Regions from separate parts of the Homo sapiens genome. Here all the other regions are linked to region 1. Evidence: promoter capture Hi-C in 16 types of primary human blood cells and fetal thymus (Javierre and others, 2016). All regions are on one chromosome and are shown on one strand. The core of a region is centred on a gene start or on the middle of the fragment in contact, and the rest is flanking DNA. Distances in the headings are between cores, read along the strand shown. Region 1 holds the start of BOD1L1 (biorientation of chromosomes in cell division 1 like 1). Region 2 overlaps C1QTNF7-AS1 (C1QTNF7 antisense RNA 1). Region 3 overlaps C1QTNF7-AS1 (C1QTNF7 antisense RNA 1). Region 4 overlaps C1QTNF7-AS1 (C1QTNF7 antisense RNA 1). Region 5 overlaps CPEB2 (cytoplasmic polyadenylation element binding protein 2). Region 6 overlaps CPEB2 (cytoplasmic polyadenylation element binding protein 2). Region 7 overlaps CPEB2 (cytoplasmic polyadenylation element binding protein 2).

Region 1 (4,314 bases), core at 889-3,388:
GAGAACACACAGATTCATGGGTTTCTGAGAACAGCAAAGTAAAAATTCCACTTGTTGAATACGAATAACTAACTTTATTTGATAACATTTACCTGGCCATGTCTAACCTTTTCCCATTAAATAACAACAAAAATAATAAAGGCAATAGAAATTATTTCTAAAAGGTAGCAGTGCATATTCCTGAAGACAAAAGTAAAAAAAACTATACTTCCTAAATAGATGAACACTCCCAAGTGAATTGAATTCTCTGTGGTGCAAAACCTCCAATATCCCGAAAAACCACGTTTTACATAGTGGGCCCAGTATGAGTCCTTATAAAGGAAGATGTACCAGGATATTCAAGAGTTTCCCCAGAAGACATAGTGGAACTGTGTGCAGTTCACCTGAAAGCTTTAGAAGAAACTGTGGATGTTGTAAACATGCATTTCTCAAAGATACAAAGCTCCTCAGAACAACTAAACATACTATGAGAAAACCCTCGACCGGGCGCGGTGGCTCATGCCTACTGGGCGAATCACGAGGTCAGGAGATCGAGACCATCCTGGCCAACACGGTGAAACCTTGTGTCTACTAAAAATACAAAAATTAGCAGGGCGTGGTGGCACGCGCTTGTAATCCCAGCTACTTGGGAGGCTGAGACAGGAGAGTCGCTTGAACCCGGGAGGCGGAGGTTGCAGTGAGCCGAGATCACGCCATTGCATTCCAGCCTGGCGACAGGGCGAGACTCTGTCTCAAAAAAAAAAAAAAAAAAAAAAAAGGAAACCCTCATTTCATCAAAACTCCAATCCAATGGACCCAACCAGATTTAACAAGCAGACAAAAACAACCCCTACAAACCAGTTAATTTTCCAACATGCTTTCTGCTTCCAGAATTCTAGACTGTACTGTGGTTTTCCATCCATCTCACTGACTGCTCTTTCCTGGTGTCTTTGGCTAATTCTTTGCCAATCCAGCTAAGTTTACTTGTTCCTGCTAATGTCCCTTTCACTCTGACATTTGGTACAAAATCCCTTCCCCTTTCCAGCCTCTCTTTCTGGACAGGGAACCTTGTTGCTGTCCTTTCCCTTCTCTACATTACTCTCCTGAATCTGCTCTCTTTCCTGTCCTTTCTCCACTTCAGTATCTGCTGTCACCTCTCCTGCATCTTTTCTCCACTGAATGACTCGGTTCTCTCTACCCCACCTTCCTGTCCCTTCTTACCTTAGAATGGTGACATGGCCTAAGTTACCTAAATCAGGCAATCACTGCTAGAAACAATACTAAAGTCCTGTCTCAGGTTTGCCTCCTTATCTTTGCGCTCCCACCCCCACGATGTCCAGCAAAGCATATTACACATAACTTGATTCAATTACCATTTAGTCATTTCTCCAAAGGATAAAGGCCCTTACCGCCCAGAAACCTTCAAGAAAGAAGGCAAACATAACTTCGATACAAAGTAAAATCATCAGATATGAGAATGAATACAAAACTGGCTACTGTTAGCGCCACTGTTTCCAAACCAGTTCCTGTAAGAACAATGCCTTAGTCTTGCTCATCAGACCGGGGTAATCACTGTGCCGAAACCATGACTGGCACGTAGTAGGTACTTAAACACTAGTCGGTAAAACGAACCAAAGGACACGCTAAGGAATGAACACTCTGTGCTTTGCACAGTCCGTGGCACACAGCTGCAGCTCCAAGAGGAAGCCACTGCAAAAGAAGCGCGCCCTTGGGTCCTCCCCTTCCCTCGCAGACCCCCAAACCCGGCGCGCTCCTAACCTTGGTGTCCACGTCGGCCAGGCAGTCTCTGCGGAACTGGTCGAAGAGCCCCTGGCTCTTGAGGTGGTTCACGATCATGGCCACGAGCTGCGGGTCCCCGGCGCCCGCACCCGCGCCGCCCGCCCCGCCCGCGCCGGGGCCAGCCCCGGGGCCCGGCGGCGGCGGCGGTGGCTGCGGCTGCGGCTGCGGCGGGGGAGGCGGCGGCGCCGGAGGAGGCGGCTGCGGCTGTGGGTTGGTGGCCATGGTGGCCTGTGCCGGGGAGGGCAAGGGCCCTGACCGGCGGACGATCCTGGGAGGCGGCGGCTGCACTGGTCCCGCCGCCTGAGGGAAGCCAACGGGATGTTGTTACGGAACCAGCGGATCCAGAGCAACCCCGGAAGTGAAAGGGAACTGGGGGAAAGGAGGAAAAGACGGTGACAACATTGACGAAAGTCCGGCGACGGAGGCCGCGAAGAGCCAGTTTCGACCGTCGCCGGGCGCAAGCGCCCTCGCGAGGCCGAGCTGCGCCGGAAGTGGCGGCGACTGTGGCGACGGAGACGACAAGACTGTGCTGGTCGCGGGTTGTGGGGTTTAGGTCACCGGCAGGGGTCTGGAGTCCCTGGAGGTTAGGGCTTCGACCCGCGCGACACCTGGGGCCCTAGGTCTGAGCGGGGGCAGTGCGTTTCTGGCCCCGCTTCATCCGCGACGGCATTTTAGGCCTGCCTCTCTTGCTCCAGTTTCCCGGAGCAGTGCATAGAGATCCATAGACATTTGTAATGCGAACCCTACGTGGATCTGCTCATTCTAACTTCGCCCAACCCTCTTCGTTCTTAGCCTGTGATCCTGCACTATTCTTGTCCCAGCAGGTAGCTCCAAGTTCCTTCTGTCTCTCTTCTGCCTGCACATACCATTTCCCCGTGGGGGTCCCTTGTTTCTGGCAGTGTGCCTGTGGATTAGATCCGATCCCTCCAGCCCGTTCTTCCTATCTGTGAAGACAAATCGACAGGCTTTTATTTTTAGGAGATTTGCTATTGATTACTATGATTATAGCAGGTAAAACATCTATAGCACATATTATGTACCAAGCGTGGCGTTAAGTGCTTTTACATGTATTAACGCATTTAATCTTTGGACAAACACTAAGAGCTAGGTCTGATTACTGTCCCCAGTTTGCAAATCAGGGAACCAAGGCTCAGATAAATTAAGTATGTTGAGTAAGATTACACAGCTAGCAAATCACCTGCTTTTGGACTGCATCATCTTTGAAATTATTATTAGTACGTGGTCAAAGCAACATAAATATTAGAAAATTTCATAATTACTAAATAGTGTGTGTAACTTTATTGAAAAATGCATATTGTTGCTTTTTAAAGTTCCTACATCTGTGGCTGAATATATCTTATTAGTAGGAAAAGAAGGGTTGAGCATCAATTCTATTCCTATTTGTAATTTTTATAGCTGTGTGCCCTGAGAAACCTTGTTCATATAAACAAGTACTGTGCCTAGGAATGGAAGAGTTTTGTTGTAGCAATATCATTCAATTCTTGACCTCAAAAAATTAGATTTGATTATCTATGAGCTGACTTCAATTAGGCCCTCCTTCTATTTTATGGAAAGCAAAGAGCTGAAAACCACCTGGCTTGCCAAAGGATTTGTTTACTTAATCCTTATTTTTTCACTCTTTCAGATTCTGGGAAATATACCAGATAGGTTTTACCAAGATACCAAATGACTATGAATTAGACCTGATTTTTTCAATGAGGTGTACCTTTCACCTGATATACTGAAAGTTTGGAGAATATCTAAACATTTTTCATTTTCATAAATAGTTTTGGATAAGATTTATTTTTGTTATCAGGTGGTTAAATTATGTTTTTGTCAAAATTTGCAACTGCAGATTTAGCTCATTCAAGTTCAAAATCTTTGTCACTGGGCACAGTGTCTCACGCCTGTAATCCTAGCACTTTGGGAGGCTGAGGCGGGAGGATCGGTTGAGTCCAGAGTTCAAGACCAGCCTGGGCAACATGGCAAGACCCCACCTCTACAAAAAAATAAAAGAAATTAGGCGGTGTAGTGGCGTGCACCTGTAGTCCTACCTACTTGGGAGGATTAGGTGGGAGGATCACCCGAGCCCAAGAAGTCAAGTCTGCAGTGAGCCATGATGGGGCCAGTACACTCCAGGTTGAGCAACAGAGTGAGACCCTTCTCAAAAACAAGAAAAAAAAAGGTTTGTTAAGAATGTTAAATGTTTACCTTATAACCTAATTAACAGAGCCCATTTTCATTGTCAAACTAGACAAATCAGATTTACTTTAAATCAGAAACAATTTGACTTCATTGTTTCAATTCAGAGTATCCTGTGTGTTTTGAGGAGTTTGATGAAGATAGCAGAGAGGAGAAAGTCATGGATATGAATCTTAAAAGATTAATTACTATATGCAGTCAAGGCTGGGCGTGGCAGCAAACCCCTGTAATCCTAGAGCTTTGTGAGGCTGGGGCAGGTGGGTGGCTTGAAGCCACAAGTTCAAGACCAGTAACAAAACAAAACAAAAAAGTAACCAGGTGTGATGTTGCAGA
Region 2 (4,314 bases), core at 1,308-3,807, 1.6 Mb after region 1:
TACCCTTGATCTGGAAGATAATGAGCCACGGAGAGGCTCTAAGTAAAGGGCAGAGATGACTAGGTGTATGTGAGAGGAAAGTCACCCAACATAGTCTCAGTGCATTCTGTGGAATGGAGATGGCTTATTTTGCTTAAGTAATAAAGAAGCATTATGGGGGCCTACTTGAGTCAAGTACTGTGTTTTCTGAGCACAGGACTATACTGAGTCCTTCTCCATACCTGCAAGGAACCACAAACATAATGTACATGTCCATGGATATAATCAGACCCCAGGAGAGGGAACAGGAAGTGAACTGAGGTGGGCACAGCTCTACCAACCTTGGGCTTTGTTCTTCAACACTGAGATTTTGGTTTAGAGAGCTAAAGTGACACTCCCCTTTCCCATTTTTTGAGTTTAGAAATCAAGTAGTAGAAAACCTTAGGAATCAAGTAAATAGAAATGAAAATATTTCTTATTAAAACTTCACCCCTGAAGTAAACAAATGTACCACCCCACAGACATTGGCAGGGCTGAATGACCTCAGGTTCTATGAAGACTTGTTCCTGAATGTTCACTTCAGCAAATATGCAGTGACGGAGGAGACGAATGAGCCTAGTAAACACACTTATCAGACAAGTCATTACTCCTTCCCTGGAGAGGGAACAAGGTGAGAGCCAAGAGTGTCACTCAGTGGAGCTCTCTCCACATGGAAGCATGAAGGCATGAAGGTGGGGAAAGGAGCTCCCTCCTCAACACTGTGAGTTTATTTTCCTTGGAAGAACTCTATCTTTTGGTGATGTACCAATGTTAGACAATTGTGGGATTGTCTCCTCTGAGTCACTGGGCCAGGCTATGGCTCTGTGGATAGTGGTTTTCCTTACAGAGAACTAAGGTCCTTGCTATCACTCATCCTGGAAGATGCTGATGCTGAGAAGGGAAACAAGGACCTGCATGAGTCCCACACTAGGTGAGAATCAGTTTAGCCCAGAACCCAAAGTATGAAGATGCCTGGAGAGTTTGTGGTGGTGGGAAGCTGGCTGAAAGGCCCAGCACATGGAGAACACACCATCAGATACGAAGGGAGGGGGTCTGAGAAAAGCCCCTGGGATGAGATTGAGCCAGCTGGGAGGAATGATACGTTATTACCCACAGTGCACAGCCCTTCCATTATCCCTGAAGCTTCAATGCACTCCTGTTCCACACCCCAAATCCAGTTTTTTTTTTTTAGGTATTATATGTGGTAATATCTTGTGCTGCAGATGGAGTAGCAAGAGGAAGAACAATGCCACAATCCCCCGATGCAAAATTGGTAGAAAGAATAACTACTAGCTACCCCTCTTCACAGAAGAGTGGCCATCCCACCAGCCATCAGCAGTAGAGGAAGTAGCATGGGAGCATAATAAGAACTATGGGTGGAGGAACTCAAAGTTCATGTCCCTGAGCACCTCGGACCTCTGAGATACAGCCAGATGCCTTGCAAAGGGCTACTTCCCAGAAATCATGTTAGTAGGACTCAAACTGTTCTAATTTGGGCATAAAGGTAAATGAGGCATTGTTTTGCAGTCACAGGCAACATACACAAAGCACTTAGCCCATCTGCCAGCTTTTAACAAGCAATAATTACTCCACATACAGGACCTTTTTTTATTTCAGTAGTTATATTATCATGTTCTGGGAATCTTGGCTTTCATTTCCTCAGAGTGGCTGATCGACAGGTCACGATGGCTTTAGAGCTATTTGGTGGTCTCCAGTCAGGCACTTGACAAGGATTTGTGGAGAGGAAGCATTCTAAGTTCTGCTTAAAATACAATAAAGATTCGACTTTGCAGACAAAAAGCAGGGCAAGACAAAATGTGGGACAAGGCCATTGCAAGCTGGGCTGCCCAGGGAGAGATCTGGCAACAGCAGTGACGTGCAAAGGACAGGAGAACTTGAGAGCTGGGAGAAGAGAAAGAGAAGCAGGAAGTTTATACAAGGTGGTTTTGTAGAAGAAGATCAAACCTGACATATTTTTAGGACTTGCATATAAAATGCAAAATAGCCATGCCTTTTAATAACCATCTTTGTCAGGGATCTAGAACTAGAAATACCATTTGACCCAGCCATCCCATTACTGGGTATATACCCAAATGACTATAAATCATGCTGCTATAAAGACACATGCACACTTATGTTTATTGCGGCATTATTCACAATAGCAAAGACTTGGAACCAACCCAAATGTCCAACAATGATAGACTGGATTACGAAAATGTGGCACATATACACCATGGAATACTATGCAGCCATAAAAAATGATGAGTTCATGTCCTTTGTAGGGACATGGATGAAATTGGAAATCATCATTCTCAGTAAACTATCGCAAGAACAAAAAACCAAACACCGCATATTCTCACTCATAGGTGGGAATTGAACAATGAGATCACATGGACACAGGAAGGGGAATATCACACTCTGGGGACTGTGGTGGGGAGGGGGGAGTGATAGCATTGGGAGATATACCTAATGCTAGATGACGAGTTAGTGGGTGCAGCGCACCAGCATGGCACATGTATACATATGTAACTAACCTGCACAATGTGCACATGTACCCTAAAACTTAAATTAAAAAAAAAAATGAAATTGCAATAAATTCTCCTTGACAGAAACTCAGTCAAGCCAGCATGTAATCTTCTGCTGTCAGGAAGAGTAATGATGAGTGGTATACATTCTTCTGTTCTATGGGAAAAAAAAAATAAATAGATGAAGGATGTTGCTTGCCTGGGAAGATGGAAGTTAATTTTCCAAAGCTGCTTTTCAAGGCTCGGCTTGCTTTCTTTGTGGGGTCTCCTTTTTATCACTCTTGTGAAAAATGAATACTTTTAGGAAGGCACTCTTTGGTCCATTCCTTGTCACCACTTCTTTCCCATGAAGAAGAAGTAAGAGGATCTGGAATTAGATAAATTGGGGCTTGAACCCAAGCTCTGCCAGTTATTAGCTATGAGTTCTTGAGCAAGTTGTTTCCATACCCAAGCCCCAATAAAGGAACTTGTAAATAAGAGTAATAATAGTACCTCTCTCCCAAGTCTTATTATGAAGATTGACTGAAATAAGACATGCTACATGCTTAGACTAAAATGGTGGCATTTTGTTAAGTGCTCCATAAATGTTAGTTGCTATTATCATCACCATCATTCTCTTTCTCTTCCTCTTCCTCTTCTTTTTCTTCTTCTTCGATAGCTTCTCACTTTATCACCCAGGCTGGAGTGTAGTGGCACAATCTTGGCTCTTCCACCTCCTGAGTTCAAGCGATTCTCTTGTCTCAGCCTCCTAAGTAGCTGGGACTACAGGTGCACGCCACAACACAGGCCAAGTTTGTATTTTTAATAGAGACAGGATTTTACCTTGTTGGCCAGGCTGGTCTCGAACTCCTAACCTCAGGTGATCCACCCACCTCTGCCTCCCAAAGTGCTTGGATTACAGGCATGAGCCACCGTGCCTGGCCACTTTCTTTATAGTTGTCATTACTTTCTACCATCTCTAGAGATATCACTTTTTTTTTTTTAACAGAGTGTTTTCCCAATTCAAGGTCAGAGCTTTGGGATTCCACAATCATGTTTTGGGACCACTGCAAAGGGTGAATTTGAGAAAGTGAAACCAAATGGACTTTAATAGGCTTCTTCCCTTCTGCTAGTTCATCTCAAGAAGTTTTGCTTTGTGTGTGTATGTGTGTGTCTCCTCTCCATTTTATTTTGAAAACTCTATTATAATCCAATCATGCAACAAATATTTTAGAAAAGTTACTATGAATCATCCCTATCAACACACAAATATCTTGACTATCCACCAATTTTAAAGATAAAATAACACTCCATGACTACCTATCTCCTTTCAAGCACTGCTCATTAATCTGCTTCTCTTCAAGCAAAGCTCCCAAAGAGGTAGATGCAATTGGTATCTCCTGTTGATCCCCCAAACTTCTCCTTTCAATGCAAGCTTCCTTCCCCAACACTATTGAGACCACCCTTGTCAAAGCCAGCAGTGACTTGAGTTGCCAAATTCACTGACCATTTCTCTATCCTTCTGGCACTTGACTTCACAGCAGCATTCAGCCAAGTACACCCTCCCTTGTTCTATTGTTGTTATTCTCTACCATCTTTAGAGATACTATATTTTCACCAGCTTCTTCTGGTGTCCATGTCCTCACTTTCTTCAGACTTCCATCTAACCAGTTTTGCAGTTTTGTTATTGTTGTTGTTGTTAATTTCTTCCCAATGGCTTGAAGTGCCTAGAGCATTTCCCAGGCCCCCTTTCCCTTCTCAACCTCTACTCTCCTTAGGTGATCTCATCCAG
Region 3 (4,314 bases), core at 1,308-3,807, 1.5 Mb after region 1:
TCTGTCTTCTCCTCCTATTTTAATATTGTTACTTATTTTATAATTTTTTATTTAAAGATAATTCTAGATTCACAGAGGTTGCAAAGATGGGACAGAGTGGTCCTATGTACACTTCAGTTTCCCACAATAGTTACAGATGACAAAATTGTATAGTATAGTATCAAACCAGAAATTGACATTGGTATAACATGTTTATATAATTCTATGTTGTCTTATCACAATGGCAGATTTGTGTAACCACCACTGTGATCAAAACACAGACATTCCATTACCACAGAGATCTCCCTTGGGCTACTTCTGTATTGCCACCTCTACTCCCATCCCTCCCTAAATCCCAAAACACTGGCCATCAGTAATTTGTCCTCCATCTATAGTTTGCCATTTTGAAGGTGTTGCCTTCAATTATTGATGTAATAAAGCTGAAGTCTGCCATATTGTTTTTTGTTCTCTGCTTATTTCTTCTGTTTTCCAGCTTTGCTTTTTCTGCCTTCCTGTAGGTTACTTGAACTTTTTTTAGAATTCTGTTTTGATTTATCTCTAGTGCTGGCATGTTTCGGTGCACCTTTCCAATTCAGGGCCTTTTGTCAGTCTCTAGAAGTCTATTTTCTTCTCTTCACCTTTCCAAGCCTTCTTATGTTCATTTTACATGTAATGTTCAGATTTTTAGCTTCACACAGTGGTAGAAATATAGGAAAATGTGTCCTCTTCACTTTTGTAGAAGTTGAAGTCTCCTCTCATTTTTAAAGTTGTGTTCGTTCTTATTTGTGAGAACATGTAATGTCTACATATTATTTTTTATTAGTACTTTTGGCAAAGCTTTCCCAGACATCTTTTGGTTGATTGAAGCTCATTCCCTAACAGAGAATGCAACTCTGCTATTGCCTTGCTTTTCATGTTGTTTTAAAGAAGTCTGATGACAAACTAATTATCTTGCCTTTCTAAGTTATTCTATCTTTGTGCCTGGAGGACTTGAGGATTTTTTCTTTTCCTTTAATGTCTATTGATTTTACTAGACCATGTCCCAGAATCAATTACTCCATTTTTTCCTAGTTCCCTTTAGGCCCTGTCTATGTGTAAATTCAGTTTTCCTTTTAGTTCTGGAACTTTTCTGGAATTTCACTTTTTAAAATATTAGTTCTATTTATTTTCTTATTTGGGGATGCCAATCATAGGTATGTTAGACACCCTTTTCCAATTTTATGTCATTTCAACCAGTTTCCCTCTGACCTTTTTTACTTTGTTCTTCATGTCATCATTATTTTGATTGGTGATCTATTTTTGTCAACATTCTTTCCATTTTATTTGATTCTATCCTCCTCTTCAGTCTTCATTACTGATGAACTTTTATCTTTTGCCCTATTTCTTTCCCAAGTCCCTTCCCAATTCATTTTCACTCATTTTATTATTTTCTGGGTTTTAAAAAATTGTTTGCATTCTTTTAATTTTTTAAAAATCAACACAGTTATTGCACATATTCATGGGATGCACAGTGATATTTTGATACACATAAAGTATAGTGATCAGATCAGGGAAGCTGGGTGGCACCCACCTGCAGTCCCAGCTACTTAGGAGGATGAGCAGCAGAATCACTTGAGCCCAGGACTCTGAGTTCAGCCTAAGCAACATAGCAAGACCCTATCTTTATTAAAAATTATTTTGAAAACCTACTCTTTGGGGTTCTTTCTGGGTAGTTGTTGTGTGTGCTTTTTTGGGGGTCTATTTCTGTTCCTAGTTTTCATATTTCTGATTCAATGTGTTTTTTCATATCTGTAAATTGATTCACTTTGGAGTGTTCCTTTACACTTGTTTTAGAGTTTTCTTCTGATTTTTGGCTAAATTTCCTGGGGAGAATTTCTGTTAACAGAAATGCTTTGATTCTCATTTTCTAATTTTTTATAACAATCTCATATAAATATTATATGAGATATATATTATTATATATATTATTTTATATATATACATATATATATATATATATATATATATATAAATATATATATATATGCTTGATTTTCTTGATTCTTATTCGTTTCATGAACAGGCTTCCTAATTTAAGAGCTTCCCTTTCTTCGCGTTCTTCCCTCTTCTAGGTAGTTTCTTTTATGGATGATTTGGGCCCTAAGTTGGGGTGGGATGGGGTGAAGGAGGGTATATTTCTCTTGGAGAGTAATTTATCTCCCCTGCTGATGTTCTTCATTGGTTTGTCTCCCAGGGGCACCAGCTCTTCTCTCTCTGCAGCTCTTCCCTCTCTTCCCTCTCTTCTCTCTCTGCCCTGTGTCCAGTACTGACAATTTCAGGTCACAGGATACATTCTGTACTTTGGATTTTAATGTTGGACTTTCGTTTCTGGGTTTATTTTGTTTGCACATTTTATGAAGACTCTCAAGCCTCCCCTTTTCTAATCTCTCACCCACAGGCAGGGGCTCTATTGGAATTCACCTTTTTCTCTACTTACAGGTAAGTTAGAGGTTGTGATGCTTCTGTCTCCTACTAACAAAAGACATGGTCATGTGTCGTTTTGTCTGCTTTTTCTCCTTGTTATTCTTTGTTTTCCTTTTGGGAGGGTGTGGTAAGTTTTGAAATCAAGGAACCTCCATTGTTCTCTGAATCCAGAAATGTCCTCTGCCTGGCTTTGTTTTAGACAGTCAGCAAAGCCAACTATTCCTATCAACTCTAACCCTTATTCAGTGACAGGTTTTGTGAGACAATGTCCCCCAAAGCTCCAGTTATCTTTTTCTTTTTATTGTTTTTATTTTCCCTACAAAGACATCAGGTTACCAATGATTTTGTCTACTTAGAAAGAACATCCTATTGACTAAGTAATAATTTCATTATTGATCTACGTGTAGCCAATGATATCTTATCTGACAGCTGTATTAGCACAGAGTTGATAAACTAACCACCAAGTAAAGGGGCATTTCACACAGCTGGAGCTAAGCTCTTGAGAGTAGATGTGCAATATTCATTAAAAATGTTTAAGATTAATAATGGCTTATGCATCCTAGTTATTGCTATGGTGAATGTCTGGAGGATCAGCAGTCCCTAGGTTGGGAACTATTCCCGTGCCCATTCCACCTCATTTAATCAGCAAACATTTACAGAAGATGGGGGTTAAAGAGAAAAGTATGAAGCCAGCCCATGAAGGAAGACTATGGACTGGAGGAGACAGATAAGCATTTAATTACAAGATTGGAAGCCCCTTAATAAGTTGCTAGTGGTAGAGTGGGGTCAAAAGAGGAAAAGGATCAAGTCTGCTTGGGTGAATCAGAAAAGCCTTCAGAAAGGATATGTCTAAACCAGGTCTTAAAAGAATGAGTAAGGAAATTTGTCAGATCAGCTTATTCCAGGATTCAGCATCTCTCCCAGCTGCTTCCCCAGAACAATGAGCAGCACAAGTTAGAACTCACCTCCACACTTTCACTCCTAAACACACACACACACACACACACACAGACACCAAACTCAAGAAAAAGTGGATGCATTCTGTTTTTAAATATATATATTATATTTTTTACTATAAGAGTGTACTGGAATCATCCAGGGAACTTTTTGTTTTCAAAATACCCAAGCAAGAGGCCTCTCTACTCATAATCTTGCATCACCCTCAGTGTGAACTGGGACCGGGGCATTCACTTATATAAAGAGGTTTATACGATTTTGGTCCTTAATGTGGAGAGAATTAGACTAAAGGACCTCCTGGTCTCCTGCTCTAGGTTTCCTCCAGGAACAGAAGACTTTTCTCTGCAACAATGATGAGAAGACTCTCCCGTGGAATGCAGAGCTATGTTGGTCACAGTCCCTCTGAGTGTTTCCAGGGTACCAGATGGAAAGACCTCAGTTTCCAAAGAATAGGTTCCTGTCCTCCATGATGGGGATGGGGCTGTTTCTCCAGCCCTGTCGGGCGATTCCAGTCAACAATACCACCTGAGTGCTCGCTTCTGAAGTAAACTAGCAAGTCATCTCTCCTAGTGCTTTTTCTTTCCAAGAAAATGTAACTCCACTGAGCTGGTTGTTAGTTCACTCCACTTTGTTTGATCAAAGGGAACAGGGAGTCCTTTGAGAACCTCTCTTGGGTGGAAGGGCAGGCCCGCATCTGCTGATTATCTACCCCCACGCCCCATGGCACCCAACTGTGTCCTGGTGAGAAGCTGTAGAACTCCATGAGCCAATCTTCAAATCTGACAGGGATGGCGCCCATGGAATGAGGGGCCATGTGCAGGCACATTTACCCGGAAGATCTGTGGCTCACGTGTGTTCGTATTTTCAACTCAGGAGCCCGGTTTTCAGCTTCTCAGGTCTAAGCTTCCTGTATGC
Region 4 (4,314 bases), core at 1,073-3,572, 1.5 Mb after region 1:
TCTCCTCTGTGCACAGCAGAAACACTGCAAGTGAGCCCAGGTCACTTTCCTTATGTGTCCCTGAACCCCAGGTAAAGGCCCCCCTGCCTCCCATATCCCCATGCCTTACTTACATGGCTCTTGGGTTATAAGGAGCCCTCATATCACTGTTTCTCTTCTGCAACTTCTGCTCCCCACCTTTGCCCCACTAGTTAACCCCCAGGTCTCCATCCAAAGAAAGGATTCACAGCTTCCAGAATTTCAGTTCCAGTGAGGCAAAATGCTGCTCTTCCTCTCCCATCACCACTTTAAAACACCACCAGGTCAAGACCAGTGTGGAAAAGGGGGAAGGAGGCTATGAAATCCTGCTGATAGAGAAGTCATGGGGGACTGTTTTGTGTTTTTATCTTTTATTTTTCCAAGTTTTGGATCCCTTCCCTTCTTCCATCTGGCACAAAAGCACTTGGAGGCCAGTATCTGGACCTGGCCTTCAAAAGCCAGTGAGTGTCAACAGGAGAACGGATTCCAGACGCACGGGACAATGGCCTTTTCAAGGCACAGAATGCTGCTCAGTATTGTACGGTTTGCATGTGATGCAGCTTCTTGAATGCACACAAACACTCCCATTTTCACCAGCTCCATGATGGTGACTTATTTACTGCTGAAGATCCCAGGGCCGATTCAAACTGCAAACATCTATCCCCACCCCAAAAGGGAAGAAAAAAAAAAAAACCTGACAACAACAAAAAGCCACATATGAAAAAGGAAAAGCCAACCAGTGTGCGACTGTGGGACTGGAACTCTGAAGTGGGCACCAGGTGCATTAATTACACTTGATTGCGTGTTGGTTTATGACTGCAGTCACTTGTGTGCTATGTTCTTGCCCCGCAGCATCTGTGCCGAAGGATGTCCTTGATATTTCACTAAGCAAGATGAATATTGGCCAGATGGTGACTTCACAAGGACATAATTCACATAGCATTTTCCTGCCCCGACACAGATTTCTGTGAAGGAATCTTGAATGCCACGCTGAACAAAACAGAACAAGAAAACTCAATGCCCCGAGAAGGCTCAGTCGTCGTAAGTTGAAGATTAATGGTCTCCACAGTGATGCCGACAGCAGCCCAAATGGCAGCCGGATCCCAGGCTCATGCTGCAGATCTTGCCAACCCATCTCTCTGTCGCTTGCAGAGTGAGCTGACATCATCTGAGGCATCTCCAATTCACTTGAGGGGGGAAGGGCACTCCCTGGGCCCCAAAAACACACACCACAGGAAACTGGGTCATTTACTTTTTAAAATGATTAATTTTGTGTAGTGACAGGCTTCGTCAGTACCTGCGTGCTTGGTAATTTTATTTTGATGGTGACCAAGTGAAGAACGTGCCCTAGGCTCCAGCAGCGAGCTCATTCTGGTGCCCTGGAAGGGGAAAATGGGAGAGAAGCAAATCTCTCTCCTTGGAAACTCTTAGCAACACCGAGAAGCCCTGGTATTATCAGGCCGCCAGCAAGTAAGCAAAATGGCCCAGTTCCGAGTTGCTTTAGGAAAGTTCTTACTCCCTGAGAGTACTATGTAGCTGACCTACATGGAGTTAAAAAGGTAGGCATTACACACTTGTCAGTGGTATTTTAAATGTGGTAAGCCTGTCTGGAATTTGTAAAATTTCTACAACCTACACATTTGAGTCCTGAACCATGAAATAAAGATATGGAGAGTGAAGGTCATCCTGCTACTAAAGAAGGTCAACCCAAGACAGTCTGAAAGCAATAGAAGTAGGGGGCCGGGGTGTCACATTCCTGAGGTCTCTGTGTGCAGACTGCCCATGTCCTAGTGATGTGGAGTCAAGACACAAGACATGTCCTCAAGCAGGACCAAAATCATCCCTTCAAAATCACATCGCCATGTTGAATGGTTGCTGTTTGTTTGTTTAGAAGGAATAAATAATAGTGATAAAAGGGATGGAGGCTATTTCTTGTACACCCACTGCGTGTGAGACTCCCTGCTGCACACGCCCCCAGTAACTCCTACAGCCCTCTGCAAGGTGTACCCATCGAGAGATTGTGCCCCCGCATCAGACTGCCTGCTCTGCCACCTTCTGCTGCGTGACCTCACACAACTGACTTAACCGCTCTGAAAGTCAGTTCCCTCGTGGGTTAAACAGAAATAAGAAGAGAACCTAGTTCACAAGCTGGTAAGGACTGAATGAAAGAATGCTTTGAAAGCTTGGTAGAGAGGCTGTCATACACCAAGTGCTCAAAAAAGTCAGCAATCATTATTACTCAGCATGCGTAGCTCTGGAAGTGAAACAGATTCTCACAAACTCTACCAAAGGGTACCTCATTCTTACACGATAAAAATAAGACCAGGCCTTCCTAGGCTGCTGCCTCCTGCCTCCTGCTAGGATGCAAATTCATGGCCAAAAACCCAGTGACAACAGTCCCTCCTTTACCAGCACTATTTGGCAGGCCAAGCTTTGGCAAACAGCCCACCATACCCATTAAAAAAAAACCACCATTGTTTCATCTGGAGGCTTTTTGATCCCCCTAAATAAAATGTTACCACCCTCCCCACCCCACCCCCAGGACAGATTCAGCCTGCAGGGGAGCCAGCTCCTCCTGCTATGTCACTCCAGCCAGGCAGGCCAGGCAGGATGACTCAGCAGAAAAGAGCCTGCTGCGGGGTCCGCCCACCCTCGGGTCAGCTGCGGCCAGAAAAGGAAGGCCTCTGTGAGACAAACAGAAAAGGACACTGCTCAGGTCCCCTGGGTGCAAAGCATCCTTTGTCTGTGGGGACTTCAGACAGGAACCGCCCATGTTGACATTTCAGCTGGCAGAGCAGGCTTGGCCTGGCTGGGAGAGGCAGGAACCCCTGCAGAGGCTACAAAAGATAGTCCACACTTCTTTAGCCCAGCCAGATACCACAGTCCCTGTCCTCTGTACGTATTAATATACATAACCTCAGACTTATGCGTTTTCTATTATTATCCCTACTTTTGAGATGGGGACACTAAAGCACAGAGAAGGCAAATAACTTGTCCAGGGTAACACAGCCATGAAGTGGGGAAGCAGGGCTTACACCAAAGAGTTGTGGCTTCCAAGCAGGTGCACACAGCATCCAGGTCTGTCCTTCTGGCTGCATGTTATTCCCTCCCTCTGCTCTGCTGCTTCTCGGGAGCTCAGAGCCGAAGGCAGCATTTCATGGTTTCTGGAGCCTGGCTCCCTTCCTCCATCCCCTTCACTGCCCAATTACAGGACTCACCCTCTCTTCCCTGGATGCCATCACTACCTTCTAACCAGTTCTCCTTCCACCCAGGTTCACTCTTCTTGACCATCTCATCTCCCATTTGATGCTCCAGCAGCAAATACTGCTTGGAGGGCCCTACACATGCAGAGCTGGCATCACCCATGCCTTGGCTGGCTCATGCTGTCCTGATTGCCCAGAACACCTTTCTTTTCCAGCCTCTGCATGCTCGACTGCTCCTGTAGGACTCACCACCTCCAGGAATCTATTTCCCTTTCCTCAGGCTGGATGAAGTGGCTGGTTGAAGCTCACAGAACATCCAGTGCATATTTCTTGTGTGGCATTTTAGGACCGAGAACTTATCTATGACTTTGCATCTCCCATGCTGGGCATCATCCCTGACATCTAGGATGTGCTCCATAAAAGTCTGTTACATAATGCAAATAAAGGTGGTCTCCATCAGTACTACCAGTCAACATGCTCTACCACTGCAAATCCATGGAGGGTGCATGTGGTTATTGAAAATGCTGCTCTCTAAAAACTTCTAGTTCTCTGCCTTCCAGGCCCACAGTAGAATGGCCCTCCCTTGTTCTGTGAGGTTGGGAGAGGGCCATGTGGTCAGCTCTGGCCAATAAGATGTGAGCGGAAGTGAGTGATGTCACTTCAGTTGAGCATTCAATTACAGGGGTGAGATGCCCAGAGCAGCATTTCCTCCCTTATGGTGACCCAACATGGGAGATGGTGGCTGCTCCATCAACCTGAGGCCCCAAGTGATTGCAAGAAGGAAACTTTGCAATGAATATATAATGTGACCAGGAGGTAAACCTTTGTTGTTTTGAAGCCCCTGAATTTATTTTTTAGCATAACTTATCTAATCCTGAAGGGAATAACTCGAATCTGTTATTAACTCATAAATGTTGTTTTGAACATTTGCCAAGAATGGTCTTTCAAATAGAAGGTGGGATGCAACACCTAACATTCATTCATAATAGTAAACACAACAAGAACTAGCAAAGATTAATGAGTGATTTAGAAATAAATAAATGGTCACGGATGTTCTTTGTGTTTCCAATCAGTACATTCATCTACCAAGCAC
Region 5 (4,314 bases), core at 687-3,186, 1.4 Mb after region 1:
AAGTGTTGATCTTAATATTGGTTGTCTGTGGTGTGCTTTTTTGTACTGTAAAAATATGTGGTTCATGTCTAACTCTGCTGTTTTATTGTGGTTGTGGTTCAAGTTTTTAATGTTTAAAGTTGATGCTGTTTTCAGAAGAGCTTTTTACTAATTTATTTGTCAGTGTTCCCTATTTGTTACTTAACCATGATCCTCCAGATTTTTTGGAGTATTCTTTTCTAACCTTAACCCTGCCAAACCTTGATCCATTTTGACATTTGTTATGCACTATTTTTATATCTCTGTGAGAGATTTTTCCAACAGTCAGCTATTTTATGGCACACTTTTTTTGACTGATGACATCTCCTTTGCTATACCTCAATTTTTGGAATTTAGAGAAGAAATCAGTAGTTTTGCAATGTTAATTATTTAGATATTTAATTTCGCAGATTTTTAAACTTTATTTTCATAATTTCTGCTTAATGTTTAAAATTGAAGAGCCTTTTCATGTATTAAATAATGAACACAAATTATATAATTAAAATAATTGGAGATGTTGAAAATCATTTTCCCTTCTTAAACAGAAATAAATATTTGGAATGAAGGGGAATGTACTAGAACACCCTTTTTGCCACGGGTAAAAATAACAGAAATGTATGGTTTGTTTTACCTTCATTTCTGTACAAGTAAAGCTTATTAGTCTAATGTTTTGTTCCTTTCCCACCTCACCCCTACCTCTTTTGTTTTGTTTTGTTTTTGCCCTTTATGTACTACATTCTTATTTTCTAACTTTTAAACACTGTATTGGAGGTTTTTTTTTAATTTACAGATCATATTTATTTTACTATTTTTGTAGAAAATTATTAATTTTGATTGTATTTTTGTATTTTAAAAGCTTCTTCACTTGTGTTCCCTAAATATTCATATTGCTGCCCAAAAGTATGACTGTGGAGGAAAAAAAAATACTTTAAAAATCCACACTTTTTGTTAAGAAGGAAACATTTAGCATTTATATATTTGTGTATGGAAAACACTTGATATTTTATCCCTGTTGCATCTGGCTGCACAGAGCCTCTCCTCAAAGATGCTACAAAACTTGAATATAACACATTTTGGAAGGCTGACTAACCTCGATTCTGTGTTGTGATGTGCAATACTGTTTCTAATGTTTGTATAAAAAAAAACAGTGTAAACCTTTTTAATGCAAATTTATTTTTTTCATTGCATATTTTGCAGATTTTATCCACAGTGTCATTTTTTACTGTCAGAAAAGATACCCCTTTTGTCATTGCAACTATTTTTTAAATCCAGAAATCTTTGTACTGATGTAAATGATTGTAGTTATTTTGGATAGTGTTTTGCTAACAAAAGGAGAGACTTTTTTCATGCATATTTCTATTTTGTTTTTTTGGGTTTTATTTTATTTTAATAGTAGTAAAATACTTGGAATAATTTTTCATATTCTTGTCATTAATATTATTTTGTATTTTTATGTGGAAATATATAATTTTATGACACTAATTGCTAAAGTTTATTTTATGTTGAATTATTTTTGGAGCTGAAATCTTTGTAATATTAAAGCAACTAGTTTCTAATTCCCAGTTTCTGTATAGAATCGCACAAGTGGTTTATGGAGTGTTTGGATTGTAATTATAAATGGTTCTTTGATATGCAAATTAATATTTTCAGTTGATTTTATTTTATATTCCTAATGGGGTGTTAAAGCCGTTTTTTATTTTTTTCTAAATAAAAAGAGAACCCATGCTTTTATGGACACTAGGTAAACACCTTCAGCTTAAATTTTTCGTTAAATATTTTAGTTTATTTTATTGTTATCTTCCAGGTGTCTAAATCTCCAGTCTGTCTGTTGTACTGGTAATTTAACTCTGTAATGGAATAGTTTGCTGCCAACTATTTATATTAAGTAATTTTTAAATATTTGTAATATTGTTGACTGACTAATAAACTATTAAGTTATTGGCATAGTTGTGGAATCTTATTCTTCGGTTCAAATCAAGTAAAATATTCAAAAACACCAGTAAGATCTTATTTAGAGAGAGAGCTTAGTGACATAAATATATTATGATGCCCAGGCCAAACTACATTTCAGTACAAGGATAGAGGAGAAGCCTTGGAGACCATGTTGTCTAGTATCTCTCAGTATTTCAGCCCTGAGTCCTCTTGTGTCAGTTCTCCCACCCTCATCCCCCATATATCATAGAAATTTCTGTGTTACAGTCATCACTTATAATTAATATTGCCATATCTAAGTTGATGCTGCATTCAAAAAATGAGGAACTGTTAATCATGTTGCTAAATGCACAGTTTTCATGATACTTTCTCAGATACCCTCTAGTTGGGAATCACTTGTAGTGTTTTACTTGTTCTTTGCACAGCCTGTGTGGATTTTTCAGTGTCTACTTTGAAGAGGGAGGGAGAAGGAAAAGAAGTATAGAGTAAGGAGCCTGGAATCTAGGTTCCTCATCCTAATTATAACTAGAACAGCTCTACTTTTAACTTTAACAAAGCTGAAGTTCTACCTAAAAATTGGTATGCAGTCACTGGGCAGAAGGAGGAAAGGATTCCATTGCATTTTCAGAAAATGAAAGATCACTGATCATAACCAAATGTTTTGTTTTACCTATAAGGACATAGGTATGTCAGAAAGGGTAAAACTTAATGTTTCCTCATCTTCTACAAGACACCATAGAAACTCCTTAAATGGGCTAATCTTGCCATTGTATGCCCTTCATATTGTGTCACTGTCACCCATGTCCTCCAAGCAAATCATGCATCTCTACATATCTGTATCTTGTTTAGCATATGCTGCCATTTTTCTATTTGGAATCTATTTTCTCTTTCCTCAACAAAGTCCTCTTTCATAATAAAACTAAAGAGCCGCCTCCACATTCTGGCCTATCTAAGACAACAGGAATTTCACAGTGTCTTAATTCCCTTGCTACTGACATAAAGATCATTTTCTTATGCTCCCCTTTCCCTCGGTTATTTAAGAAAAGAATAAGCTTTGAATACCAACTTAGTACTGAACACCGACTTTGTCAAATCTTTGCTCACAAGGTCTCATAGCCTTGAAGGTGAAAGGCCAGGCTAACTCAAATGCAATGCAGTATGCTAATAAAAGATAAAATACACTTTCATAAACATGTATAAAGCATGAAAGGAAGGAATATTCTTCTTAAGTAATTTCATTTCCTTGAAATGAAATTACTTAAGAACTTTTACATAGGGGATAGCATTTGACTTAAATTTTTCCATGAACAAAGAATTAAAAGATACAAAGATTAGCACTCACAAATCCTTTCTAAAAGAGTTACTTAAAGATCTATTTCACCAAAAAGAAGGAATGATAATAAAATACCCAGGAAACATGAAGACATGGGATACTACATAGGTAAAAAATATCGCTCTAGTGTATAGTTAGGAAACGAAATGTGGCTAAAAAGCTTCACACAATTTAGAAGCAAGTCCAAATAAAGTCATAATTTAAAACATCGATGTTAAAATAATAACTAAAACTCAAGGTAATTTAAAGCAAAACCTGGATGAACATTTGAAATGAAGAAGAAAGCCTTGTTTGGGATAGAAGAAGATAAGACTATAGATGTTGATTAATTTATTATTAATACTAAATTGTCTTCAAATTGCAATATATGTAATTTTTAAATGCATTTAATATATATTTAAATGTAACATTTTAAATATTTTAAGTCAAATACACAAATTATGAAAAAGATAAAACCCCACCCACCCTTTCCTCATCTACAATTTCCACTCATAAAAGGCAACTTTTAACTCTTTTTAAGTGTTTTCACTTTAACAGTATCATGTTATTTGCCTTATTATATCCAAATAGCACACTTAACAATGTTTATTTTTCAGTTTAAGACATTGCTGACCTCCTAAAATGACTGCATATTTTAATTCAGACATCCCCCATGTATGCACACACACACTCAGAGTGTTCATTTTGTGAATAATTTATCACGCTGATGATTATTTCCTGAGCACTTTTCTGTATATTTTACACTTCACTAATAAAATTTATTTTAAAAAGGAAAATGGAAAAGAAAACAATGCTTGCTTCAATAGCAGGATAAGAGAGTGAGGAACATAGGAAGAAATACAAAAACAGAATCAAAGAGATTTTTCATGGTAACTAAATTCTAGGTCTATAGGCTGTTTTTAAAACCATTTTGTGCAATGTAATGCACATATAGAAAATGAATTTCCTATCAGTTCACATTATGAATAATTGTAAAACTTGTTGAGAAATAGAAAACTTTTCTAAGCGGAGACTCAACAGGTTTCTGTACA
Region 6 (4,314 bases), core at 528-3,027, 1.4 Mb after region 1:
CCAAAAAAATCCTTCAGTTAATACTGAAAGAAAAACAACTTGTCCATATTCTTACTGTTTTTCCTTCTCTAACATACTTCTCTTCATTTGATCTCTATACGTAATAAAACTCTAAATACATGCAATGTGACTCCTACCCAACTTTCCTGAAACAGCTACCTTCACAGATCATGTATGTCCTCAAAAACAACTGTTTATTAAAAGTAATTATCTTAATATCTCACATTGTTACTTAATTGCTCTTTCGTTCTTTTATTGGTTTTTTGGTGCTTCTATTACCATGATATTTTGGCTGCCCTCCCACTTTTCTTACCACTCCTTTCTCTAACTCCTTGAATGTTCTGCTTCTTCCTTGTAAGTTTCCCAAGGAACTGTCCTCATCATTTCTCGCTGGAGTGTTTATCATTGATGTTATAAAGGACCTTAAACTATAACCCATGGAGTTGACTCCAAATTATTTTCTCAGAAATATGACATTTCTTTTCTCCACTTCCTTTTCAGCTTCCTACTATACATTTGCTTCTGAACATCCTAACAGCATATAAAACTTTACATCTAAAGCTTAAATTATTTTCCTTTCTTATACCAGTTTCTGGTCTTAACTGTCCTTATATCAGTTAATGGTTTTATCATTTTCTAAAGTCTTCCTTAGATCTCTCCTTTTTCATTCTTTCTCCCTATTTTGTTTCCTATCTGCTTGTGACTGCCATCCATCCTTTGTGGATTTTTTGCACAGCTTCTGATCTGCTCATTTTCAACTACCTTATCCATATTGACTAAGTCTCCCTAATGCATAGAAAAAGTTATAATCTTGATTGAATCCCTGTATCTAGTTTATTATCTTCACCACCTACTAAATGTCTCGTTAGCCTGTCATTCAATGCTAAATACTCTAGCCTCAAAGGGCTTTTCTGGCTTTTACTCTCCTTGTTTCCAACATATTTCAGCCAACCTTGACTATTCCTTATTTCTCAAGTAAGTTCAATTTTTCCTACATTTTCTTATGTTTCTCCTTTCACTTGGAAAAAAAGGAAAATTTACTGAAAACCATGTTCCTGTAAATATTTCCACCTATAGATATTCTCCTCTTTCTAATGCCTCACTATGTACTGCTATTTTTCTCTTTTTATCCCAAATGCTATTTAATTTCACTTAGAGATTTAGGAAATCATCCTTTTATTTGACTCCTTTCCTCCAGAATATGTCCTCTGAGCACTTTGAAGCTTTCTTATGGATGTGTACCATGGTTACATATATAGATCTTATCTTTCTAAATGTACATTCCTTGACAGCCAGGGAGTATATCAGGGCATTTAAGTTTTGTGGAGGGATTACCCACAGAGTGGGGATTACTTCAGAGGATTGTGCAGGATGTGCCCTATATAAGGATTACCTCCTGAAATGTGGGCTCAAATGGGCACTAACGTGCTAGAGGGGGTACCTTTTCTATTTTGCACATGTGCGGAAGCTCCGTCTACTGTTTCATGTAATTGGCACACGTGTAATAAATTAGGTGAAGACCTTGTATACAAGTATTACTTGTTCTCCTCATCCTTACTTACTGTAGTCTACAAGTGATTTTTTATAAATTATATCCCCTTATCTATTTAGTCTGTGTCATTTCCTTTCTGCCACCAGTTTCTGAAAAGTTTCTCCTGTTATATATCCATTCTAACTGTCCACATACATTAGGTTCTTGCTTATAACAAGTTCTTGCTCATAACAAGTTGAAGTGATCTAGTATCTCTTTTGCAGTTTAATTGTTGACATATGACTATGTTTATTTCTAAGTCACTCTTTAGATTGCTTCTTTCTTGAATCCAGGTAATTAAAACCACATGCTATTTAAATTTCTCTTAATTTTTATGTTCACCTGCATCACCTTCATTTTTAAGTCTTTGAATTTGTCATTGGTATTTTTATGCTTAAATTTATCATTTTCTCAGATCTGAGATTCAAGTTGTATTTGTTCTTTATTCTAGGTCGTTCTTCCCTCTTTCCAATAGATGATGGCTTGCTTGATGATGGTCACAGTGATCAAGTTGGAGTTTTAAATTCACCCACCTGTTATTCAGCTCACCAAAATGGAGAGCGAATAGAACGCTTCTCTCGAAAAGTTTTTGTTGGTGGTCTTCCTCCAGATATTGATGAAGGTATTTATTAAGATATTTATTAACATGGTGATTTGGGCTTTAACAAAAACAAAAAGATATGAAATTTAATGTGAATGGACTATGAAAGTTTTTACCACCTAGAGATTTTCAGAATTAGAATGCATTTTCTTCTTTTAAAATACTTTATCACCTGTTGAAATATGAAAGTAGTTGAACAAAAGCTTTTTTATTTTTCACTTTAGATCTTATCATATTTGTAACTGTGAGCATTTTTTGTAAATAAGATTTTCATGACCTAGGTCATATTCTACTTGTTTTTAAAATATAGAATATATTTAGGTATATAAAACTTAAAGCTTTTTGTATCACCATAATGTGTGCATGCACACATACACTGAAATAAATGGAACCAACCATAAGATAATATCTGCAATGCTTGGTAATCAAAAGTTTATTTTTATTTTTATTTATTTATTTATTTTTTTTTTTGAGGTGGAGTCTCGCTCTGTCTTCCAGGCTGGAGTGCAGTGGCGCAATCTCGGCTCGCTGCAAACTCCACTTCCCGGGTTCAAGCGATTCTCCTGCCTCAGCCTCCTGAGTAGCTGGGACTACAGGCGCCCGCCACCATGCCCCGCTAATTTGTTGTATTTTTAGGTGAGACGGGGTTTCACTGTGTTAGCCAGAATGGTTTTGATCTCCTGACCTCATGATCCGCCCACTTTAGCCTCCCAAAGTGCTGGGATTACAGGCATGAGCCACCATACCCGGCCAAAAGTTTAATTTCTTTAAGGATAAATGTGCTCTTAGAAACAGGGAAGAAAGAGGCTATTAAACCCGAAAGGGAAATGGAAACAGAACATGAATAGGAAATTAGGGTTTCACAAACACTAGTAATTGTATGTGATAACAAAAGAAAATTAATTGAAGACTTAAAATATTAAGCTATATTTGTGAGGTTATGGGAAATGTATCACTCATTCTTACATTTTAGGAAATTTTTTAGTTATGATTCAGATATCCACAAACTTAATTCTAAGTATTGATCTTCATAAGCTTTCTATGTAATGAAATAACGTAAGACATAGCAATTGGATGTAACCTATGTGGATTTCAGTGAAACTACCAGGCATGTATCAGACCCTTGTATATTTTTTCAACATTGTAGTTATTCAAGTCTTGTTTTAGCAGACCTTTTTTCCTATAATAAAATGATTTTATTTGTGAAGCAGTAATAGATTTTATTTATATATGTTGGCATTTTTTTCAATCCAGTGCTATTTGTGGTTTGGTGTACTATAAAGTCATTAGTATCCATACAATGTTATATAAAATTTTAAAATTCACATGGAATTGAGTATTCTAACCAATGCATTGCTTAAAAGTGAATTTATTTTGACAAAAATTGTTAATCTTGACATATTATTTTAATAAGTATATTAGACATATTCCCAGTGTTTATATTCTAATTTATCTTAAGGTATTTGGCACTTTTAAATGTTAAATCTTCATAGTAACAGTACAGAATTTCTTAGAACGAATCACTGAAACTAATTTCTAATGTGTATTATTGTACTTTCTTAAGATGAAATAACTGCTAGCTTCAGAAGATTTGGGCCTTTGGTAGTAGATTGGCCTCATAAAGCAGAAAGCAAGTCCTATTTTCCACCAAAAGGTAAGGATTGTTATTGTTAATATTTGCTAGGAAATTGGTTGTATGAGAGCAAAAGAAAGAATAGCAATTACTTAGCCAGTTAGGAATCATAAGAGACTTGCTATGATTTGATAATTTCATAGACTCAGATCAACAAATGTTTGAGTATTTTCTCTGTCTAAAGCATCATTTCAAGTAACTTGGGTATAGACATATGAAACAATATCTCTCTGCATTATGAAATTAAGATCTATGTGAAGTGATTGGTCTTTCATAAAATATAAATTTATGAACAGTTGAAATATCAGATTTACATTAAATGTTCTAGATAACAGCAGAGCAGTAGAAATTATTACCAACTGTTGATGAATAAATAATTTAGATAAAAGACAAAGTAGCTAGTTGGGTCTATTTTTTTTTTCAATTATATAAAGATGTAAAACTTGAGGAAGATGCTTAGTTATGTTAGTCAGTTATTGCTAGGAAGACACCGTGGCTGATCACCACAGGACAAGAATTACAAATTGTGCTAACCTTCACATGCAAGTC
Region 7 (4,314 bases), core at 621-3,120, 1.4 Mb after region 1:
TAGGTATATGATAATATATTATCTTACTAAATGATTAATGACTTAAGTTTTGTCTTTTATTATTATTGTCTTTTGGGATTACCATTTTCTTGAATCAAAACTTTTTGGTATTCTATGTTCTTTGGTGTTTCTTGGTAAATTTTCTAGTATTAATTGGGTAAAAGTCTTAAAATATGATTAGGCCAAAAAATTTATGATAGGATTTTGATTTGAATGCATTAACTAGATTAATTTCAGTTGAATCTAAAGTAGATTGATGGCTTTTATTAGATGTAGGTAAGGAATGATTCTGTTGCTCTCTTCGGATCTGGTACTTTGGATCTAAGGGTCTTTTCTGCGTTTGTATGATCTTATTCTTAGGCTTTTATGAGGCATGCATTGAAATTTGGGAGTGTGGTCAGGAATGACTGTCCTGCCCCTTGGATCTGAGCAGAGATTGGAGTTATTCAAGGTTGGTAATGACCACATTCTAAGTGGATTTTACCAGACTTCAAATGAACCTTTTTTTCCTAATTGGATTTGGAAGTAAAGGTAAAATGTAGATTATGAAAACAATATTGGAAGAGTCTGTCAAATGAGTTGGGGCAATGCTTTATTTAAAGCACTTAATTAAGAAGTATTAGATATCTTCTATTAAGGGTATGTGTGTATTGTGTGTTTAATAAACACATACAGTATATAACATACCATACATATCATTTATTGAACAGTTGATACAGCTAAGCATTGTTCTTGAGGACTCTACATATATGTATTAACTCATTTAATTTGCATGACTAAGAGGTAGATATTTACCCTTATTTTACAGTTGGATGACTATGGCTTATTCTTAATAATTGTCTGCATTTCAACTGCTAGTAAGTGGTGGAACTTGGTAGCTTTGAGTTTGTGCGTTTAACCACTGCACCATAGTGTCTCCCTTTTGATCTGTTGCTAATTCTAACCTAAACTCTTTATGATTCTAATGTGATTTAAATGTTTATTTTTCTTTTAGAAACAATTGGCAGAGCACATGGCATTGTTCTTTAGCTATGTTCTCATCACTGAAGAGTGAGTTAGCATCATCAACTGAATATTAGGGCTTTGGAGTTCATTTCCTCTATTAACTCATTAAAGAAAAAATAGTTTAGAGAAGGGAAAAATTTATCTTGGCAAAGAGCAATAAGCAGGACTTTTGCAATATCTCTCCCCACAACTTCAATATGTAAGAGATTTAGAAATAAGCTGAAAAAAAAGTCTTGTTCTATGATTTTTTTTTTTCATTTTCTTAGAGAATATCCTCCCTATGCCACACATACAAACACATGTTAAGGTATTTGTGTTTTTGATTCAGTCCATAGTTTACATAGTAGAATGAAATATTTGATTTATCCATTCAACAAATATTTGAGAGCCTATTATATGCTACGCTTTGTTTTATATGCTAGAGAGTAAGAGAGACTAAGTTACTGCCTTCATGGATCTTCTGTTTTAAAGAAGTATAGAGACAGAAAATGTTAGATGATAATCAGTACTATGCAGAAAAAATATACTATCAAGGGGATAGAGAAAGAAGCTGCTATTTTAGACAGGATAGTCTGTCATGCTATCTCTTAAAGACCTGAATGAAGTGAGAGGTGCAAGCTTTGGTCGTATCTGGGCAAATGTATTTCAAGCAGAAAAAAAAGGAAGTAGGAAGATCCTGAAAAGGGATTACCTGGCATGTTTGAGGAACAGCAGAGATCAGTGTAGCAAAAATGGTAGAGAATCAGGGACCAGATATTTGTTCCAAATGTAATCTGGTAATTTCTCTAAAGAAGTGATAAGTTTTATACAGTTGTCATATTTCTTAGTATTTTTAGTTGCTCAGATAATACATTTAAAGTGGCTAACATGAAGTAAGGCTTTTTTATACAGTTGTCACTTGGTAACCACTGGGGCTAGTTCCAGGACCACCCAGAGATACCAAGATCGGCAATGCTCAAGTCCCTTATGTAAAATGATGTAGTTTTTGCCTATAACCTGTGCACATCTTGTTGTGTACTTTAAATCGTCTCTAGATTACTTATAATACCTAAGTGCCTAGACATCACATTTGTGCGGATTCAATGTCGTATCATACTTGGTGCACATCAGATTCAAGCTTTGCTTTCTGGAACATTTTGGAATTTTTTTTTCCTGAGTATTTTTGATCAGGAATTATATTTTCAATATAATTTCTTGGTTGAATCCCATGAATGCAGAAGCCCCAGACACAGAGGGCCGACTGTATATGTTATATACAAATTACTATTTAAAATCGTAATAGACGAATAAGAAAATTTTTAAGATACGATAGATCCTCTAGTTATTCACTGATACCCAAAAATACATATATTTTTTAAATTACTTATTTTAAATTTCATAGTATCTTAATGTGAAAGGAGCCGTGTCAAGAGCTAGTGTATACTCTTTATTGATATATTAAACCATTATGAAATTATCATATTTTCACAATAATTAATAAGCAATTGCCTGGTTACCTAAAATTTAATTTGCCCAGGTTTATTACTAGATGACTTTGTTTGTAAGCTTAGGTTCATTAGGGACAACAGAAAACTCCTAAGTGGCTTGAGTAAGATAGAAGTTTGTTTCCCTTACCAGAAACATTAACACTTCTAGAGTAGTATGGTGATTTTCATGGATTGAAGCTCCTTTTTATCTCATTCTTCTATTATCCTGAAAACACAGTTTTTGCCTTATGGTCTAATATGGTCTCTTCACTTTAGCTATCACATCAGCATTTCAGCAAGCAAGAAAGAGAAAAGGAAGGTCTTCCCTTTTAAGGATACAGTACTTCCCAGAAATTGCACGTACCACTTTCACTTTATATCCCATTGGCCAGATCTTACATGCAGGGGTACACTTACCTACAAGAAGGCTGGGCTATGTATGTAGTTTTTTGGTTTTTTGTTTTTTACTCTGGGAAGCTCTGTATCTGTCTAGCTTTGATGACCCTATTATTGACAGGAACAGGTAGTTATTAGTGTACATCTATCAGTCACTGCACCACAGGTCTTTTAAACAATAAGGAGAAATTAGTTTTATAGTAATGTGGTTTTTTTTCTATTTTTTCTATATTAAATCTTAAATTATGAAATATACTATAGAATATTCTGTGAATTTTTTAAGAGATAAAATTGTCCTACAACCAACCATGTATACCTTTATGTTGTCAATATAAAGTAATTATTAAGATAGCGATTAAGAGTATGGAGCCAAACTGCTTAGGTTCAGGTTCTGCCAGTGCTACCTGCCAGTGGTATAACCTTGGGCAACTTACCTATTTAACTTTTTGTGATATAGTGTTGTCATCTTAAAATGGGAAGATAATAATACCTAACTCATAGGATCGTTCTTAGGATTAAGTAATTGGTTGTAAAGAACATAGAAAAGCTCCTGGCTCAGAGTATAGCCTCAAATGCTGTTAGTTCTTACTATCAATTGGCAGGTTTTTAGCGAAAGTACTTTTAATAATACCCTAAGTAAAACTTAACTTTAAAAGTTAACCTATGAAGATGCATTAATGTTTCCACTGTGGTAGAGAAAAAGACTCATCTTTAAAAATGAGTCTAAATTTGCTTATTTCATTTTGGAGTATGTTATTACTTACATTGAGAGATTTTCTTAGGTAGCGAGCTGTAGTATTTATAATATGTATACATATGTATACAATATATGTTCCTTTGCAAATAGTTATGTTTTTTAAACTTTCCACAAAAAGTGTGCCTTTTAAAAGTCTATTCAGAGCCATAATATCAAAAGACTATTAGCAGTGAAACTATTTTATTACCTGTATCTTGGGATAAATAAATGAACAGGAACCTATTAGAGTAATTATGTGACAATTGAAAGTTGAGGATCTTTCAAGGTGGAACTAGGCTTCATGTTAAGGCTTTGCTTAATTTACTTTCCCAGGAAGTCTTGCCTTAATCCCTGGGCCTGATTACTATATACTCTGTTGTGTTTTTTTATATAGCATTCTATACATAACTCTTTTAGCACCTAGCATATTTTATTGAAATTGTATATTTGTGTCTATCTCCCCTACCACATCATAAGACTATGTCCCACTCATGTTTACATGCTCTGCATCCTACACACTGTCAGTATCGTAGATTTAATTAACTTATTATGCTGAACAGTGATACAGGTTGCCATTTTGTAGGAGTTTGTTTTTTTTTTTTAAATCTTAAGTCAGAAATAACAGTAATTTATTCATGGCCTTAAACTGTTCTCCAAATTTGGCCATCTGCAGCAAGATGTTTAGAAATAGGCATATTTCCAAAATAAGCT

Evidence for each region. The method cuts DNA at HindIII sites, captures the fragments that hold promoters and counts their contacts. A CHiCAGO score of 5 or more calls a contact.
Region 2: a fragment that was not itself captured here is called in contact with the fragment with the promoter of BOD1L1 in region 1 in 1 of 17 cell types (monocytes); the score reaches 5.3 in monocytes.
Region 3: a contact is called between a fragment that was not itself captured here and the fragment with the promoter of BOD1L1 in region 1, in 1 of 17 cell types (monocytes). The highest score is 5.6, in monocytes.
Region 4: a contact is called between a fragment that was not itself captured here and the fragment with the promoter of BOD1L1 in region 1, in 2 of 17 cell types (endothelial precursors and megakaryocytes). The highest score is 6.3, in endothelial precursors.
Region 5: a fragment that was not itself captured here is called in contact with the fragment with the promoter of BOD1L1 in region 1 in 3 of 17 cell types (monocytes, neutrophils and total B cells); the score reaches 6.7 in monocytes.
Region 6: a contact is called between a fragment that was not itself captured here and the fragment with the promoter of BOD1L1 in region 1, in 7 of 17 cell types (monocytes, total B cells, neutrophils and 4 more). The highest score is 8.6, in monocytes.
Region 7: a contact is called between a fragment that was not itself captured here and the fragment with the promoter of BOD1L1 in region 1, in 9 of 17 cell types (naive B cells, activated CD4 T cells, total B cells and 6 more). The highest score is 8.8, in naive B cells.

The regions. Positions count from the first base shown.
Region 1 is chr4:13,625,587-13,629,900 of GRCh38, forward strand. It overlaps BOD1L1 (biorientation of chromosomes in cell division 1 like 1), which reads right to left and starts at 2,139. Exons shown (of 26, transcript NM_148894.3): 1 at 1,759-2,139. The coding sequence starts at 2,001. It overlaps MIR5091 (microRNA 5091), which reads left to right and starts at 2,279; the gene lies at 2,279-2,371. RefSeq lists enhancers at 1,568-2,298, 2,136-2,295, 2,299-3,029 and a silencer at 1,796-1,995. The HindIII fragment of the contact is 7,220 bases long and covers 389-4,314 here.
Region 2 is chr4:15,201,931-15,206,244 of GRCh38, forward strand. The region is part of intron 2 of C1QTNF7-AS1 (C1QTNF7 antisense RNA 1); the gene reads right to left. Among named protein-coding and RNA genes, the nearest start is that of CPEB2, 200 kb to the left of the region's middle. The HindIII fragment of the contact is 2,796 bases long and covers 1,160-3,955 here.
Region 3 is chr4:15,165,625-15,169,938 of GRCh38, forward strand. The region is part of intron 2 of C1QTNF7-AS1 (C1QTNF7 antisense RNA 1); the gene reads right to left. Among named protein-coding and RNA genes, the nearest start is that of CPEB2, 170 kb to the left of the region's middle. The HindIII fragment of the contact is 3,486 bases long and covers 815-4,300 here.
Region 4 is chr4:15,147,385-15,151,698 of GRCh38, forward strand. The region is part of intron 2 of C1QTNF7-AS1 (C1QTNF7 antisense RNA 1); the gene reads right to left. Among named protein-coding and RNA genes, the nearest start is that of CPEB2, 150 kb to the left of the region's middle. RefSeq lists enhancers at 1,636-2,592, 2,428-3,627, 2,593-3,549, 2,685-2,824. The HindIII fragment of the contact is 249 bases long and covers 2,199-2,447 here.
Region 5 is chr4:15,068,190-15,072,503 of GRCh38, forward strand. CPEB2 (cytoplasmic polyadenylation element binding protein 2) reads left to right here. Exons shown (of 12, transcript NM_001177382.2): 12 at 1-1,962. All of the region lies in intron 2 of C1QTNF7-AS1 (C1QTNF7 antisense RNA 1), which reads right to left. Among named protein-coding and RNA genes, the nearest start is that of CPEB2, 68 kb to the left of the region's middle. The HindIII fragment of the contact is 2,128 bases long and covers 873-3,000 here.
Region 6 is chr4:15,050,432-15,054,745 of GRCh38, forward strand. CPEB2 (cytoplasmic polyadenylation element binding protein 2) reads left to right here. Exons shown (of 12, transcript NM_001177382.2): 7 at 1,983-2,153; 8 at 3,697-3,786. The region is part of intron 2 of C1QTNF7-AS1 (C1QTNF7 antisense RNA 1); the gene reads right to left. Among named protein-coding and RNA genes, the nearest start is that of CPEB2, 50 kb to the left of the region's middle. The HindIII fragment of the contact is 1,112 bases long and covers 1,222-2,333 here.
Region 7 is chr4:15,027,082-15,031,395 of GRCh38, forward strand. All of the region lies in intron 4 of CPEB2 (cytoplasmic polyadenylation element binding protein 2), which reads left to right. All of the region lies in intron 2 of C1QTNF7-AS1 (C1QTNF7 antisense RNA 1), which reads right to left. Among named protein-coding and RNA genes, the nearest start is that of CPEB2, 27 kb to the left of the region's middle. The HindIII fragment of the contact is 499 bases long and covers 1,622-2,120 here.